Linked DNA regions of Homo sapiens: regions 2 and 3 are each linked to region 1. The links are contacts of gene promoters, found by promoter capture Hi-C in blood cells and fetal thymus (Javierre and others, 2016). All regions are on one chromosome and are shown on one strand. Each heading gives the region's core, a stretch centred on a gene start or on the middle of the fragment in contact. The rest is flanking DNA. Distances are from core to core; before and after follow the strand shown. Region 1 holds the start of DLD (dihydrolipoamide dehydrogenase). Region 2 overlaps LAMB4 (laminin subunit beta 4). Region 3 has its middle 15 kb from the start of CBLL1.

What was found. Contacts are between HindIII fragments. The CHiCAGO score rates a contact against its expected background, and 5 or more counts as called.
Region 2: a fragment that was not itself captured here is called in contact with the fragment with the promoter of DLD in region 1 in 1 of 17 cell types (M2 macrophages); the score reaches 6.2 in M2 macrophages.
Region 3: a fragment that was not itself captured here is called in contact with the fragment with the promoter of DLD in region 1 in 2 of 17 cell types (non-activated CD4 T cells and naive CD8 T cells); the score reaches 5.3 in non-activated CD4 T cells.

What each region holds. Positions count from the first base shown.
Region 1 is chr7:107,889,695-107,892,566 of GRCh38, reverse strand. It overlaps DLD (dihydrolipoamide dehydrogenase), which reads right to left and starts at 1,384. Exons shown (of 14, transcript NM_000108.5): 1 at 1,278-1,384. The coding sequence starts at 1,316. RefSeq lists a silencer at 1,044-1,153 and enhancers at 1,214-1,453, 964-1,646, 1,604-1,683. The HindIII fragment of the contact is 5,175 bases long and covers 1-2,872 here.
Region 2 is chr7:108,093,013-108,095,884 of GRCh38, reverse strand. It overlaps LAMB4 (laminin subunit beta 4), which reads left to right. Exons shown (of 34, transcript NM_007356.3): 12 at 548-657. Among named protein-coding and RNA genes, the nearest start is that of LAMB4, 36 kb to the left of the region's middle. The HindIII fragment of the contact is 581 bases long and covers 1,086-1,666 here.
Region 3 is chr7:107,727,282-107,730,153 of GRCh38, reverse strand. No RefSeq gene overlaps it. Among named protein-coding and RNA genes, the nearest start is that of CBLL1, 15 kb to the left of the region's middle. The HindIII fragment of the contact is 1,632 bases long and covers 607-2,238 here.

The DNA.
Region 1 (2,872 bases), core at 135-2,634:
CTCAAAATAAATAAATAAATAAATAAATAAATAAAGCTCTGAAAGTTCTAACTTAAATACTTGAATAATCTATACATGATAATCTTTTTACCTGTAATTTTTGTTTCCTAACTCTAAGCTAGCGTGTATATACAGTCCGTATTTACTTAGAACAATCTATGAAGATGTTCCTGAGACATCAACTAGGAATAGCAAATTAGACAAGGTAACTTAGGAAAATGCACCAAGTAATGTACTTACGTTCTGGTGCTACTACAGTTTGACAAATTGCATCATAATCTCCCTAATCTCTATATGTGGACGGCTACCATTTCCTAAGGGCAATGAGGCAGAAAGCAAGCAAGCAAATAACCCCTGCTCACAGCAGGAAAATGGGCGGCAGTGACAAAACCTACACTGATGTTTCCTATTCCAAGGCAACTCTTAACATTTGAGGTCAGGACAGCAAACCCAAAAAGCAGCAGATTGACAATCCTGAGTTTCAGTCCCACCTCCGCCGCTCCCTAAAAGCATGACTTGCAGAATGTTACATTAACTTTTGAGAACTCAGGTTCCTCATCTCTGAAACAAAAGGGTTTGATCGCTATATTATTTTTAAGGTCTCCACTAACATAGTACCCAGCCACGGTGCCACATACACACAATTTGGCTGTATCTGGTAAGCAGATTAAAAAGGAGAGTTGTTCTGATAACCTGCTGCAATTAAAGATTTAAGCCTCCAGGAAGTCGTGAGAGATGGCAATGAACACCAGTTGAAAGCTGCCAACACTGACAAGACCTTAGGGGAATTCCGAGGGCTATCTGTTGGAGCTGACTGGATCTAAACCATTCAAGAAGTGACCCCAGGGTTACCTGCCCACTGCATAAACTTAGGCCACTCAGGGATCAGAATTAGGATGAGAAAAAGGCAAATGGTATAAAAAGCCAGACTATACGGGACATGGGTGGCTTACACTTCCTCCAAGGTAGAGGCCTATGTGTGACCGGGATGGCCCTCGGCCCAGGCTTGGGGGTGTGGCATGTGTGACCGCCGGCCGTCACACAACCCGAAAGGACTCGCCACAGCCTGGGCCCAGCCCCGTCCCTCGCCTGCTGCAGGATGAGCGGCCACCTCGGAGCCCAGGGCCGGGCTGAGCCAGTGCAGAGGCGGGGCCAGGGGTGGTGCGGCCCAGGCGCCCGCCTCCGCCAGCCCAACACGGTTAAGCCGCGTACCGGACCCACTGAGCGGGACCTTCCGTGCCTCTGGCTCAACACGACCTCACCTACTCGGCCCTCACCTTGGCCAAGGAGCAGTACACACGACTCCAGCTCTGCATTTTTCCGCTGTATTTTCCTTTCCGCCAATACTTTCACCTCCGCTGGGCGCCTCCGCCGCTCCGCCAAGGTCTCCCCTCCCTGCGCATGCACAGGCGCAGCCTACGTCATCACCCGGGAGCAGCGCGATTGGCCCGCGCGGTTCTACCGCACGAGGCGTTCCTGTCAGGCTCGGCGTCGTACGCTGTCGTAAGGAGCGCAGGGCTTTGTCGCAGCGGGGGTGGTGGTGGGAATGCTTTAGGGGCTGGTGCCAAAATGTCGAGCTACAATGTATTCTTATACTTAGAAGATGAAATAAACAAATAAAACTAGCGTTTGCTTAATGCACATTATCGACAGTAAAGCGTGACAAGTTCAACAAGCTCTTGGTTGTGCTAGGCATTCCTCGGCACTTCCTACAGACATCTCATTTCATCCTTGCAACAACCATATGGAGTATTATTAGTATTTCCATTTCTTGGATGAGACCCAGAGAGGTTAAACAGTGCCCCCAAGGTCTCACAAAGGAGAGATAACTGCGGCCCTGAGGCCAAAACCTTTGGTATTATCTACTGCTTTATACTCGCTCCTCTCAAATGCCATATAAGGGATGGGGCTACAGATTTTGGCATCACCAGCATTCTGCTCTAATTAGCTAACTGACAATACGTAGAGAACACACTTTCTTCTATTTCTTTAGTTGAGAAACACATCTCCCTGGTAAAAAGAGAGTGGGATGGTGGATGAGATTTTAGGTTTTGAGAGAGAATCTGTTGAAAAGGGTTGAAAAACATTGTCTTCAAGATTGAGCACGAAAGTCTAAGGTCTCATTCTTGCCTTGCAATAAGTCTATATAGTGTGAATAAACTTAATTCTACATTTATTGGAAGTCTACCACCCAGGCCTTGTGCTGGGCTAAACACTGGTTAGAAATTACTGCCTATGTTCAGATTTAGATATGAATAATTAAATTTAGTGTTTGTTATAGAGACGGTATTGCTGGCAGCTCTGTCCTGTGACAGGGTCCCAGGCTCCTTTTATCTCGTGACTCTGCCATCATCAGAGCTTGCCTTGCATCTTTCATTCAAGATGGCTGCTCCAGTTTCTACAATCATATCCCCTCATTCCATCTGATTACAAAGCCACACCTAGCTGCAAGGGGATCTGTGAAACATAGTCCTGTCAGCTGAGTGCCTAACTGAAATTGTATTAATAAGCAAGATGAGATGAAGCGAAATTGGGGGACATTGAGCAGCCTCCACCACACAGATGGGGAGAATTGTCTCCTCTCCAGCTTCATGGCAGTCTTTGACATCTGGTCTAGGAGTTACTGCTCCATATGCACAAAATCTCACAATTCTTTCCTGAACTTTCTTGGGCTTTGTTCCCTACTCCTTTGTCCAAAATTACAATATCATATTTTTATTTTTAAAAAATGAAACACTTCCATCCTTTCCAGCTGTCATTCACAAAGCCTAGGGGCTCAACCCAGTATGAGAAGTGAGGCAGGAAATAGATTCCTTACTGCACTCACCATATTTCTCCACATTCCTCCTCATCTCTTGTACCAACTATACCT
Region 2 (2,872 bases), core at 127-2,626, 200 kb before region 1:
GTTGGTATTTGCTGCAAGTGTATTCCTTGCTCTGGTAGCATGTCTTTTTAGCCTTTGCAACATATGCAGGGCTCAGAAATGTCTACGGGTAGAGGAGAAGAAGGAGGGGGGAATTAAGACAAAAAGTAACAAAGTACTAAAGGAGAGAAGAGAGAGTGGGATTCCAGATGCATCTGCCAGAGAAGGAGCGATCAGTAATAACCATGACTCCCAGAAACTCCTGCCTCTGAGTCACCAGCCTGGTCAGCATCACTTAGGGTTACTGTGCCAGTACTGCAGCATGTACAACTAGCTACACCTACTTGTCTCCTCCTCCTAATTGCCATCCAGTAAAACTACATGAGGCTCTGGAAGTGCCTGACACAGGATTTCCTCTGTGAGGTTATATGCAAAACAATAATCACGCAGCCAGGCACACAATAAACCTGGCAGGGCAGGCTTCTCTGTGTTCTTGCGGTTATGCTTCTTGCTTTGTGTGAGCTATTAAGTACACTTGCAAGAGTGGAGGAATTAAGAATGAGAATAATTGTGTATGCTGTGCTTTCAGCCTGCGACTGTAACCCCCTTGGGAGTCTGCCATTCTTGACCTGTGATGTGGATACAGGCCAATGCTTGTGCCTGTCATATGTCACCGGAGCACACTGCGAAGAATGCACTGTATGTATTTGCCTATAGTTTCCCTTTTCTATAGTGATACAGATTTCTATTGCCATTGCCTAGGTAAGACTTGGTTTTGCTAATCTCTTTCTTGTCCTATTGTGTTTTAATACTCCAGTGGTATGAGTATTTACACTACAGAAATCAGCAAACACTACCTATCAGCCTCCCCTCACCCCTGCATTGAGCTGCCTGTTAAACATTTACCAGCTCACCACTGGACTGGACTAAACCGACCCAGGCACAGATATTATTAGGTTTATCCACTCTTTTCCTGAAAATGCCAAGCAGTAGAATAGAAGCACATTTATCTGTCTATGTTTTGGGCCACCAGAACTTTCTTCTATCCCTTGTACACAATCCCCTTATCATCCCTACCACTCCCTTCCTAAAAATGTTTTGGATAAGGTCTTATAAAAAAACAAGCTTAGGTTTAATGTATTTTAGATTCCTGTGGGAAATAAACTCTTGGATTTTTCACAGACTCTACTAAACATACAATTTTAGATGTATCATCTAAAATTAGTAAAATAAAACATATTCACTCCATAAGAAATGCATGATGCAATTGGGGAGTTCAAACCCAACTCTTTTCTTTGTTCTCCAATCTTGGCAGCTCACCATGACATTTTAGAGAGAAAAAAAAAAAACCCACAAAATCTTAACCTAATAAAAGAACAGTGACCTCGATGTGTCTGAAGAAATGTAGCTGATGAATAAGAAACATATGCCTATGAGGACATGGTTTTGTGCTGATATTTTAAGTCATTTTACTGAAAACAGGATGGGGCAGAGGGGGTGGGGGAAAGAAGCAAGGAAGGAAATATGAAGAAGGGATTCTGGAAGACAAGTCAAAAAATCTGAAAATTGTACCTTAAAGAGAAAGGTCAGCCACGCCAACCTCCATGACCATAAGTGTGTAACACAAAAAAAGGAGCACAGTTGGTTACAGGATCAACAAATCCTGAAATTATGTGATCGACCAAATCATGTAATTCCAGACAAAGCTTAGGCTCAGGCTGACTTTTTTCACTGGCTGGTTAACTGCTACGTGTGCAGTACAGACTCACTTTTGCTTGCAGGGCAAGCAAGCAAAATAACTGAACAGGGACCCCCCCCATGGGGGAACTGTCCATCGTGGCTGAGCCCATGCACCCACTAGGTTCTCCACATCCACATCTCTCTGATGGTGCCCTGGATCTGCCCTGAGGTGGCCAGCATGGCAGCATTCCCTGTCCTAGAGGAAGTTTTCACAACCACATCCTGTGGGAAGCAGTTCCTATCACATCATTTTTTTTTCTTAAACTGAAGTTTTGGTTTGGGGAAAAACATCAAGTCCTTTGTCGCATTGTGTCCAAAGACATCAATGTTTAATATCTAAAAGACACCTTTTTGAGTAAAATCATGCATAAAATTATACCAAGATACAAAAAATATGGATGCTTAACAAGACCATTTCCAAAGAGAATTTCATACCTACTAAAATTTAAGTTTTATCGGAGCATGTTCAATTGAGATGTGTGGGAGGAGAATTTTTTTTAGCATTTTATACTAAATATTATAACACTTAGAAAATAGTTACTTGTATCTCACCAGCTGTTTATTTTGAACAACGGTCAAGATGTTGCAATGATGGAAAAAGTCTGGAACAATAGAGTTGACTCTCTCATATGGATTCATGTTATTATGCCAAAACAACTGATTGATAAACAAATGCCTATGCTAAAGTGTGGTATTCATGTAATATCTCAAAATTAGCTTGAAGGATTTCTCTGCCTCCAAGTATTTCAGTATTGTATGGGTAAAATTCCCAGGGGTTGTTGTGGTAAGGGAACCTATCAGTTTTTTTAAAAGCAGTTACACGGCCGAGCCTGGTGGCTCATGCCTGTAATCCCAGCACTTTGGGAGGCCGAGGCAGATGGATCACGAGGTCAGGAGTTCAAGACCAGCCTGGCTAACACGGTAAAACCCCGTCTCTACTAAAAATACAAAAATCAGCCGAGCGTGGTGGCAGGCGCCTGTAATCCCAGCTACTCGGGAGGCTGAGGCAGGAGAATTGCTTCCACCTGGGAGGCGGAGGTTGGCCAAGATCGTACCACTGCACTCCAGTGTGGGCAAAAGAACAAGACTCCGTCTGTGGGGTGGGAAAAATACAGGCAGTTACACATAGGCTGGTAGAAGAACTTCTATTCCGATAGGATTTATATAACCCAGA
Region 3 (2,872 bases), core at 173-2,672, 160 kb after region 1:
GGTTCAAGCGATTCTACTGCCTCAGCCTCCTGAGTAGCTGGGACTACAGGCGCCCGCCAACACTCCCGGCTAATTTTTTGTATTTTTAGTAGAGACATGGTTTCACTGTGTTAGCCAGGATGGTCTCGATCTCCTGACCTCGTGATCTGCCTGACTCAGCCTCCCAAAGTCCTGGGATTACAGGCATGAGCCACTGCACTCGCTGGAGCCTCTTTTTGAGGGCACTAATCCCATTCATGAGGGTGCTGCCCTCATGACCTAGCCACCTCTCAACAGTCCCACCTCCTAAGACCATCACATTGGGGGTGAGATTTCAACATATAAATTTTAGGGAGATAAAAGCATTCAGACCATAGCAAAAGTTATTCCTGAGTAGAATGATTTAGGGTGATTCTTAGAATTTTATTCTAGTCTTATTTGAGGGGTTTTTAGTTGGAGTTTTAATATTTTTCACCCACATATTTTGATGAGCTAAATCACTAATGAACTTAAGTTTAAAACTATGCTAAACTGAGGTAGAATTCTAGAATCATAAACATACAGTGTTTTCCAGTATTATCACCACGTAAGTCAATCCTGTATGTTTACTTGTGCAATTGATAAGCTTAGGTAAGAAGTTGATTCCACTTAGGTAAGAAGTTTAAATTAAATCTGAGGCAAATTAATTATGCATTGTATTTTTGTAACAGCTCTCCCCCCATTTCATTGGTAAGTATTTCAGTATGAATCTCTAAAATATAACATAGTGACAATGCCATTATCACACCTTTGTCTCTTCAAAAAGTCAAGGTCACGAGGGGAGAAAAGGGTAGGAGGACTTTTTTGAATTAATAAAAGTAAAGGCATTTAATCGTTATCATTATTTTAGAGTATACTACTACTTGTTTTTTAAAAATATTAACTGTAAGACAGCCTCAGGCGGGTCCTTCAGGAGGTATTCCAGAAAAAAGCATTGTTATCATAGAAGATGACAGCACTTTTTCAAATGCAATGAAATTGATTGGATCCAAATTCAGGGGAAAATAGCTATAAAAATTTGGAGAAATTTTAATATAGATGGGCCAGAAGATGATATAAGATAATTATTCTTGAGTATAATAATGGTATTTTGGTTAGGAGATGAATGCTGACTCGGTAGGAGGTAGCATATCATGATGTGCAAGTTACTTTCAAAATATATATAGGTAGATAGGCATATACATAAGGCAAGGATGGCAAAATGTTAACAACTGGTGAATCTTGGTGGGGGGCGTGTAGTATTGTATCCTTTCAACATCTGTGGTGTTGAAAATACTGTATAATTAAAAGTTGGGGAAAAAAACTCTAGACAGATTCATTTGTAACAAAAATAAATGGAAACAAAACAAATTAAAATAAAGGATATCCGGTGCTATAAATTGAATATTTGTATCCTCCCAACTCCACCTGTTAAAGCCCTAACCCCCAGTGTTTATGGTGTTTGGGGATGGAGCTTTGGATGATAATTAGGATTAGATGGTCATGAGGGTGGGGCTTCATGGTGGGTTCAGTGCCTTTATAAGAAGAGACACTGAAGAGCTTTCCTCTCTCTGTTTCTCTCCACACACATGTGCTTAGGAAAGGCTATGTGAACACACAGTGAGAAGGTAGCTGTCTGCAAGCCAGCAAGAGAAGTCTCACCAGAACCCAGCCATGCTGGCACCCTCATCTCAGACTTCCAGCCTTCAGAACTGTGAGAAAGTAAGTTTCTTTTGTTTACATCACCCAGTCTATGGTATTTTGTTATGGCAGCCCAAGCTGATTCATACAGATTTTGGTACCAAGAAACAGGGTGCTGTGTAACAAATACCTAAATATGTGGAAGCAGCTTGAAACTGCATAATGAGAGACTGGGAGAGCTTTGAGATGCATACTAGAAATATGACCATTAAGGGCAATTCTGGGGAGGTCTCAGACAGAAATGAAGAACAAGTCATTGGAAGAATATATTAATTGGAGGAAAGGTGATCTTTGATATAAAGTAGCAAAGAATTTAGCTGGACTGTGTTCTAGTATTTTGTGGAAGGTAGAACTTGTGAGGCTGAATTGGATATTTTACTAAGCAAAGTGTCCGAGGAGTAGCTTGGTTCCTCCTGAGTGCTTATAGCAAAATGTGAAATGAAAGAGATGAATTGAAGAAGGAATTAAGCAAAAGGGAACCAGAGCTTGAAGATTTGAGAAAATTATCAGCCTATCCATATTGCAAAAAATGAGAAAGCTTGTCCTGAAAAGAATACTAAGGGTGTGGATGAACATCCATTTGATAAAAAGATCATGAGTGCAGTTCGTGAACACAATCAGCCATTTCAACAGAAAGCAGGCATAGAGATGGGATTATACCAGCAGAGACACCATCTGTTTGAACTAAAGGGGACAAAGAAAGAGAGGGCCCGGTGCAGTGGCTCACACCTGTATCCTAGCACTTTGAGAGGCTGAGGCAGGTGGATCACTTGAGCTCAGGAGTTTGAGACCAGTGTGGGCAACATGGTGAAACCCTGTCTCTACAAAAAATACCAAAAAAAAATTGCCAGGCATGGTGGCATGCACCTGTAGTCCCAGCTACTTGGGGGAGCTGAGGCAGGAGGATTGCTTGTGCCTAGGAAGTTGAGGCTGCAGTGAGCCATGATCATGCCACTTCACTGCAGCCTGGGCAACGGAGCCAGATCTTGTCAAGGAAAGGGGAGGGGAGGGGAGGGGAAGGCAGTGGGAGGTATGACTGACTTCTTGGATTTTACAGGACAGGACCATAGAGCTATTCAGCTGTGAAAGTGAGCTACTCTTCAGGAAAAGGACAAAAGGACCCCAAAGGCAATTGAGAGATCATCAGGACTGCCACTCCTACCACAGGCTAAGA